3 separate regions of the Homo sapiens genome follow, and all the other regions are linked to region 1. Evidence: promoter capture Hi-C in human tissues and cell types (Jung and others, 2019). All regions are on one chromosome and are shown on one strand. The core of a region is centred on a gene start or on the middle of the fragment in contact, and the rest is flanking DNA. Distances in the headings are between cores, read along the strand shown. Region 1 holds the start of LRRC32 (leucine rich repeat containing 32). Region 2 overlaps GVQW3 (GVQW motif containing 3). Region 3 holds the start of TRP-AGG2-4 (tRNA-Pro (anticodon AGG) 2-4).

Region 1 (2,700 bases), core at 12-2,511:
TAAGCACTTGACCTATATCATCTCATTTAATTCTCACAATCACCTATTGAGGAAATTACTGTAATTCCCATTTTACGGATGAGAAAACAGTTTCCGGAAAGTGAAGTGACTTACCCCCAGAGTTACCCAGCTCATAAGGGCTTTGGAGCTGGGATTTATCCAGTTCTACATGACCTGAATACTGTGTTTTCTCCAGCACATGCTGAGCCGACTGCCCCCAATAGAACTGTCTTTTTTTTGCCCATGAAGAAAAGGAGGCTCAGAGAAGTGACTTACCCAAAGTCACACAAGGAGAAAATAGCAGGGTCACGATCAGAATCCAGTTCATCTGTCTCCAAAGCAAATGTTCCCACTATACCAAATCAAGGTCTCCTTCCCTAAGCCCTGCCAACGACCCCTCACACGCAGGAGCAGGGCAGACTAGCTCACAGTCTGGCCTCTGAGGTCCTCTCTCCCTCCTCTCGGCCTCAGCTGACTTACTGGCAGAGTGGGGTCCTGGGAGAGCTGCTGCGGACGTTCCTGTCAAGCAGTGAATCACTAAGGGCAAGCCTCGTTCTGGAGACATGTGCATCCCACGGGGGAATTAGACCTTAACCCAAAGGAATGTGGCTGTGATGGCGGAATTTCAGGCAGCTCGGCGTGGGGGTGGGGGCCCCTCACATCTTACCACCCATGAAGAAGGCTGGGTTCAGAGCCCCTTGGAGAGCGGTGGGTGCCCCCTACCCCACTACGAGAAATGGGCAGGCCATCTAGTGCTGTGGGATGGGCAGCCCCACGCCTGGCTGGGATCGGAGCGTTGCAGGAAACCTGAATTCAAATTCCGGTTTGCCCTTGCCTAGCTGTGTGTTCCTGGGCAAGTCACGGTCTTCAGGCCATTGTTTTCCCAGCTGTCAAATGGGAAGGCCGGCCTCACCCCTTTGCGGGAAAGATCCGCCAAGACAGGAGCGCTGGGGAACTCCCAGGGACCGAGGGAGGGTCAGCCCCGGCTCCACGCGCGCAGTGGGGATGGCGGGAGGGGAGTGTTTGGGGGGCGTCCCTTGGGACCAGCCCCCGCCTTGCGCTCGCTAGAGGCGCGCGACAGTGCGCCCCCCGAGGGCCGGCCAGCCTCGCCTGCCCGGCGGCTCCTACCTGGCTCAGCGCGGCCGCAGCTCCTCTCCCGGGCAGTCTCGGCACATTTTGCGCAAACCCGCCCCCGGGTCCCACCCCGCGCCAGACCCCGGGGTCACGGCCCGAGGAGGAGCAGGCCGCTCAGCTGCCCCACCGGAGCCCCCGCGCTCCGGCTGCAATTTAAATACCTCTCCCGCCGGCCCGCCCCGCCACGCCCCCCTCTGGCGAGGCCGTGGGGTCCTAGCGCCTGGCCCCGTGCCTCGGTTTATCCGGAGCCGGCGGGGGCGGAGTGGGGTGGGGCGGCGAAGCATCTTCACCACCCTGGGACCTCGGCCGGGAAGGGGCGGGGGCCCAGTGTGGGGGGATGAGAGGGCGGGAGGGAGAGGGGTTGCAGAGGAAGCGCCGTGGGAGCGAGGCCCATCCCAGCGGCCGCCGCACGTGCAGTTCGCGGCCCCGCGGGGTCCGGAGGGGGGCGCGGTGGCTCTAGGAGCCGCAGGTCCACAGAGGAAATCCGGCCTGGCCCCGATTTCCCAGCTGCTGGCGCCGCCGCACTTAACGCGGGGGCAAACAGGCGAGGTGACGGCGGGGCTGAATGCGGAAGGAAATGACCCTTCGCTGGCCCTGGGGCGGCCGCGGAGGGGGTTCCCCGCACCAAGCCGTCCACTCTGGTGGGTCCTGGCAGGTCACTTTTCCTCTCCGGATTGTGCTCTAGTGTCTGGACCCGTACTCCTCCATCATCTGCGGGACCCTTCAACAGCCTGTGAAACGGCACCATCAAAGTCCTGTTTTCGGATGGAGAAGCTGAGGCTAGGGGTGGGGGCAGTGTGTACACATGAAAACCAATTGTCTGAGACTAGTAAGGTCCCTATTTATAGCTGGGGAACCTGAGGCTCAGAAAAGGTTAAATGGCGTGTCCAAAGTCAACACAGCTAATAAGAATCAGTGATTTGAGCCCAATCTGTTCATAAAGCTAAGTCTGATTCAGTTTGGGCATTATCTTGCCCGAATTTTTAAAGTACTGTGCAAATATGGGGTGGCGGTATTGTCATTTAGATTGGAGGTTGAAGCAGATCTTTCCCAAAGCCACCTCTCTTCTAGATGCCTTGACCCTACCAAATCACAGGTACCCTGCCTTGCTGCCTGTGGACTCTAGTATGCGGGTCCCTAGAAGAGAGGGGCCCTGGCTGTCCTCCAGGTCCTGGTTCCAAGTGTAGAAGGGGCCTCTTCCACAGTGTTTCTCTTCCCTGATCGTCACCAGCCCTGAGAGTGGGGCAGGGTGCCCCATTTTACATGCATGAAAGTGACCACCCAGGGCCTTGTGGCAAATCAGGGTAAGGCTGGGCTCAGAAGCGGGATTCCCTGAAGTCTCTACAGTTACTGCCTTTTCTTACCCCTGTTCAGTCCACTGTGGAGATGGATCTGGGGAGATGGGGTCAACCCAGAGAGGACAAGCCATGATAGCAGGTGCCATAGGGGCCTGACCTAGTCTTAGAAGAGGAAATCAGGGAAGGCTTCCCTAAGGAGGAGGCCTGAGCTGCAGTGAGGGGATGGGCAGGAGGTGCAGGTAAGGAATCTCTCAGCAGGGCCTGCGAA
Region 2 (2,700 bases), core at 143-2,642, 270 kb before region 1:
ATTTTGTTGCTCAAGTTGTTCCAGCTTTGGCCATTGGGTGTTTTTTCAGGTTGGCTTCTGTGTCTCTTTGATGTGCTTCCAACCTTTTGTTTTTTCTTAGCAGGTCCTTACCTTCTGGTACTACAATATGCTCCAAGATTATCTTGTTTTTTGCCTTCCACACCTGTGACCAGCCATTTCTCTATTCTCGATTTCTGTCTAGCCCTGGTTCCTTTTATTGGAGAATGGTGTTTAGAAAGCAAGATATGGGCAGTGAGTGTATTGCTACTGGAATTTGGGTCTTTTTGATATCTTCCATGTCTCTACTTAACAAGCTCAATTTTTTCTTTAGGTTATTGATCACATGGAATACAGTGATAATAGTTTTAATGACCTTATCTATCAATTTTACCTATCTCCCTCAGTTTCATTTGACTGATTTTTGGAAATAGCTTTTGGCTATTACTTTTAAGCTTTGTTAGATGAGACCAGAGTAATATTAGTCTAGGGCTAATTTTGCCCCAGTGTTGAGGGCACCCGAAACCTTATGAAATATGTCTTGCCACTCTAGATGTTAGGAATAGGAAGTGGACCTGTGTGATCTCCAAAAATGGTTCCTTCTAATCCTTTTAGGCAGTTCTTTCTCTGGCCTCTGGTAGTTTCCTTACATACATGCTGAAGACTTGAGGGGGCTTTGTATATTTGGAAGCAATGTTGCCAGGTGGTACTCAGAGGTTCTGGGATATATCTTCCTGGTGAACTTTTCCTTTTATCATTATCATTATCATATGATTCTTTATCCCTAGTAATTATTTTTGGCTTAAAAGCTGTCAATATTGCATTATTTTGCTTAGCATTTGCCTAGTATATTTTCCCATCGTTTTAACATTTCTGTGCTGCTATTATTATTATTATTATTTTATTATTATTATTATTTTTTGAGACAGGGTCTCACTCCTGTTGCCCAGGCTGGAGTACAGTGGCACAATCTCAGCTCACTGCAAACTACGCTTCCCGGGCTCAAGGGATCCTCCCACCACAGCCCCCGAAGTAGCTGGGACTGCAGGTGCCTGCCACCACACCCAGCTAATTTTGTATTTTTTTGTAGGGATAGAGTTTCATCACATTGCCCAGGCTGGTCTCGAACTCCTGGGGCCAAGCAGTCATCCCACCTTGGCCTCCTAAAGTGCTGAGATTACAGGCATGAGCCACCATGCCTGGGCTCAAATTAGATGTTTTAACAGCCAGTGTTTATTTAGATTTATAAACCTGCATACCGGCTTCGTTGCCTATCTTTCTCTCTTTTTACTGAAATATAATTCATATCCAATAAAATCGTTAGTATATTTACAAAATTGTAGAACCATCACCACTAATTTTAGAACAGATTACAGCATTCCACAAGGAAACCCCCTACCCATTAGCAGTTTCCTCATTTTCTTTAATCCCCTGGCAACCACTCATATACTTTCTGTTTCTATGGATTTGCCTATTTTGGAGATTTCATATAAATGGAATCATAATATGTAGCCTTTTATGTCTGGCTTCTTTCACTTAGCCTAATGTTTTTAAGGTTCATCCACGTTGGAGCATGGGTCAGTCATTTATTCCTTTTTTTTTTTTTTTTTTTTGAGATGGAGTTTCGCTCTTGTTGCCCATGCTAGAGTGCAATGGTGATCTCAGCTCACCACAACCTCCACCTCCAGGGTTCAAGTGATTCTCCTGCCTTAGCCTCCCGAGTAGCTGGGACTACAGGTGCGCACCACCACGCCCAGCTAATTTTTGTATTTTTAGTAGAGACGGGATTTCACCATGTTGGCCAGGATGGTCTCAATCTCTTGACCTCATGATCTGCCCACCTTGGCCTCCCAAAGTGCTGGGATTACAGGCATGAGCCACCACACTCAGCCCCTTCATTCCTTCTTATGGCTGAATAACATTCCATTGTGTGAATCTACCACATTCTATTTATTTATCAGTTGATGGACATTTAGGTTGTTTTCGGCTTTTGGCTATTATGCAGAATACTGCTATGAATGCTCATGTACAAGGTTTTTGTGAACATACGTTTTTAATTCCCTTAGGTATACACCTAGGAGCGGTATTCATAAGTAATTCATTATTTCTTGTATTCACTGGTATGCTGGTAAATATTTAACACCAGTTTTCACTTGGTAGGGTTGGGGATCTCTGATTTGTAACATTTGTTAATTTCTAGAGTGTAAATATTCAAATTACCAATGTGGCATCATTGAATGTAGAACTGGGAACAGATGCAGAGTAGTACACCATTCTATAGTATGTCTACTGTATAAACACAGGAGATACAAATAAAAGTTGCATGGTTGATAGCATAATGTGGTAAAATAATTAAGAAGGCATGCATTGTGAGGATTTTTGACCTTTATATTTAAAGTGATTCATTTAATTGTAAGTTTACATAATTTAATGTTTGAAAATGGGCCGGTTGCAGTGGCTTATGCCTGTAATTCCAGCACTTTGGGAGGCTGAGGCGGGTGGATCATCTGAGGTCAGGAGTTTTGAGACCAGCCTGGCCAACATGGTGAAACCCCATCTCTACAAAAGTATGAAAAGTAGCCTGGTGTGGTGGCCTGTGCCTGTAGTCTCAGCTACTCGGGAGGCTGAGGTACGAGAATCCCTTGAACCCAGGAGGCAGAGGTTGTAGTGAGCCAAGATGGCACCACTGCACTCTAGCCTGGG
Region 3 (2,700 bases), core at 113-2,612, 440 kb before region 1:
GCCCCCCTAGGGTGGTCCTGCATACTCTGGCCTCTGTGCCCTGACATTCTTTTTTTTTTTTTTTTGAGGCAGGGTCTCACTCTGTCACCCAGGCTGGCTGGAGTGCAGTGGCGCGATCTCCGCCTCCCAGGTTCAAACGATTCTCATGCCTCAGCCTCCCAAGTAGCTGGGATTAAAGGCATGCCATCACACCTGGCTAATTTTGTAGTTTTAGTAGAGATGGGGTTTCGCCATGTTGGCCAGGCTGGTCTCAAACTCCTGACCTCAAGTGATCTGCCCGCCTTGGCGTGAGCCACCCCGTGCCCTGCCTCCCTGACATTCTTGAGCCTACTTGCTCCACGCAGGCCTCTTAGCCAGAACTTTTCTGGTTGGAAAGTCACCTTCTCACCTACTGGAGCCCTTCCTGCCCTGCTACCCCACTGGCTAGTGAGGTCATCTCCAAGGGTCCCAGCTCTGGCAGAGGGACCAAAGAATCCCACCACCTCCCTAAGAAGTTTCTTGGCTGACAGGCATTTTGTGCCAATGGAGGGGGCAAGCAAGCCTTGAACCTCTGACTCACGCCAGGCTTTGAGCTGTTACGGTGTCTTTTTTTGGCTTTGGGTTTTACAGAAAGACAAAGTACCACTCATTCAACAAACGCTTTACAGGTCATCTGCATTGGGCCCTGTGCTGACATGGCCACTCCTCAGGGAACCCTCCCTCACACTCTTGTGGGTAGAGACACAGATGTGTGCAGGGGTCAGGCATCCAGGCAACAGGGAGTGCAGGGGCTGGGGGCACTTGGAGAGGTGTCTGCCTGGAGGTGGAGGTGGTGGTGCAGAAACCGCAAGGCCTGGAATGTGCAGGAAGCTGGGGGCAGCCCCAGCTGGAATGAGCAGCTTCCACTGGAGCCATGGCTGGAGTGTTCACGGAGTGAGGAGGGCCTGAAGAGAGGTGAGTGGGGAGGGGTCAGGCCTCAGAAAGCCCAGGTGGCAGGTAAAGAGCTCAGCCATTGCTCCCAGGGTGGAGCCACCGCAGGGTTTGAAGAGACTGTGGGTGTGGGACTGTCCATGGGGAAGGCCTGTCTGGAGGCACAGAAGGCCCGGGCAGAGGATGTAAGGTCCTGGGTGTGTGTCCAGGCCATAGCCTCATTTAGCAGTAACCACAGTCCGCCAGGGCCCAGACTGAGCTCCTTGCAGACCAGTCCACAGCCTTGGGCTAGGCAGAGGGTGCAGCCAGTGTGGCAACCACTGGGCAGGGGGTTCAGGAGGCAGGGTTGACTCATCAGTGTCCCCAGGGCCCAGCCCGGGGGTGGGGCAGAGCAGGCGCCAGTGGAAGTGTGTTGTGGAGTGAAAGAAGCTTTACAAAGGCTTCCAGCGACTGACTGAAGGTATTTCTTCCTGCCCGCACATCCTCAGACCTGGGAATAAGGAAACGTGAGGCTCCAGCCAGCTCCTGAAGGCGCAGGACATAGCTGAAAGGAGTTTGGAAAAGGGCCACTGGGCAAAAGTCCTTCCAGGGCGTCACAGTCTCAGTTTCCTCATCTTGAAGTCAGGGTGTGTGGGGGGTGGAAAGGGGTGGGGAGGGAGAGAGAGCGCAACGGAAATTGGCTGGACTGATCTGCACCGCTGGCTCTGCACTGCTAGTAGCCTTGTGATGGAGGCCAGCACAGCCACTACCTTCCGCTCTCCTACGGGGGACAGGGCGCGGTGGTGGGGAGCTCCCAATTCTCTCTGGCAGGCAAGAAGGCAGACCTTGTGACCCCGTTTTCACCAGGGGGGCATGCTGAACACATTGGCTACGTGTCCCAAGGACACTGAGTCACGAGGTGGAAGAGCTCCATGGAACCCGTTTCTCGGAGTGGGTCTGGCACCCCTGTTCCCCACAGAGGCTTCTCGGGGAGCCTAGAACCCATGGACCGTGGACGCAGAGGCGAAGCACGGGAAACCGTGCCAGGCGCCCCACGTGCTGGGAGGCCCATTCGGTGAACCAGAGTCGGTGGGTTCCGCCCAGGATTCGGTAGCTAAACCGAGAAACTGCACATCTGACCCAGCCCTGACCGAAATGTCAGGCCAAAGCCTCACAATGTCAGTTACCCTCCCACAAAGCTAGACATCCAGGAACCCCAAGACCCAGGCTGCGCAGTCATGATGACGATGATGATGATGTGATGTTTGGAACGCGGGCGCGTTAGGGAGCTCCACACATGGTTCAGAGAGAATTCTCCTGCCCAGGATCCCAGCCCGCCGCCCCCAGCCCCTGGTCTGCAGTTCTGCGCGTCCCGCCCCAGCTCCCAGGTCCAGTGTAAACTCGTGGTCCCTGCATCTGCAGAAAGGCACATTTCCCCTCTGCAGCGCGGACTGATTGCGTTCTCGCTGCGTCCAGATCCAGGGCTCGCCGGCGACAGAGCCAGTCTCGGGGTCCCACTGTGCGGATACCGGATTGGTAATCCGAGGCGAGCCCTAAGCGCACACGCCATTGGTGGGTCCTGTGCGGCCGGGACGGGAAGGCGCAGGCTCTAGGGTGCCTCCTATTCTACTTACAAAGCGAAACGAAAACTCTTACGAGCGACGGCTCGTTGGTCTAGGGGTATGATTCTCGCTTAGGGTGCGAGAGGTCCCGGGTTCAAATCCCGGACGAGCCCTCATTTTCTTTCCCTTCCTTTTTCCGCATCTCCTTCCTTTTCCTGCATCTCCGTTCTCTAAATACAGAACTTATCGA

What was found. The method cuts DNA at HindIII sites, captures the fragments that hold promoters and counts their contacts. A contact is called where the count stands out against the background at its distance.
Region 2: a contact is called between a fragment that was not itself captured here and the fragment with the promoter of LRRC32 in region 1, in 1 of the 25 tissues and cell types used here (neural progenitor cells).
Region 3: a contact is called between a fragment that was not itself captured here and the fragment with the promoter of LRRC32 in region 1, in 1 of the 25 tissues and cell types used here (lymphoblastoid cells).

The regions. Positions count from the first base shown.
Region 1 is chr11:76,669,486-76,672,185 of GRCh38, forward strand. It overlaps LRRC32 (leucine rich repeat containing 32), which reads right to left and starts at 1,262. Exons shown (of 3, transcript NM_001128922.2): 1 at 1,129-1,262. RefSeq lists silencers at 1,017-1,146, 1,207-1,406. The HindIII fragment of the contact is 10,955 bases long and covers 1-2,700 here.
Region 2 is chr11:76,395,413-76,398,112 of GRCh38, forward strand. All of the region lies in intron 1 of GVQW3 (GVQW motif containing 3), which reads left to right. Among named protein-coding and RNA genes, the nearest start is that of GVQW3, 15 kb to the left of the region's middle. The HindIII fragment of the contact is 9,534 bases long and covers 1-2,700 here.
Region 3 is chr11:76,232,962-76,235,661 of GRCh38, forward strand. TRP-AGG2-4 (tRNA-Pro (anticodon AGG) 2-4) reads left to right here and starts at 2,552; the gene lies at 2,552-2,623. RefSeq lists enhancers at 431-977, 1,525-2,071, 2,072-2,617. The HindIII fragment of the contact is 3,098 bases long and covers 1-2,700 here.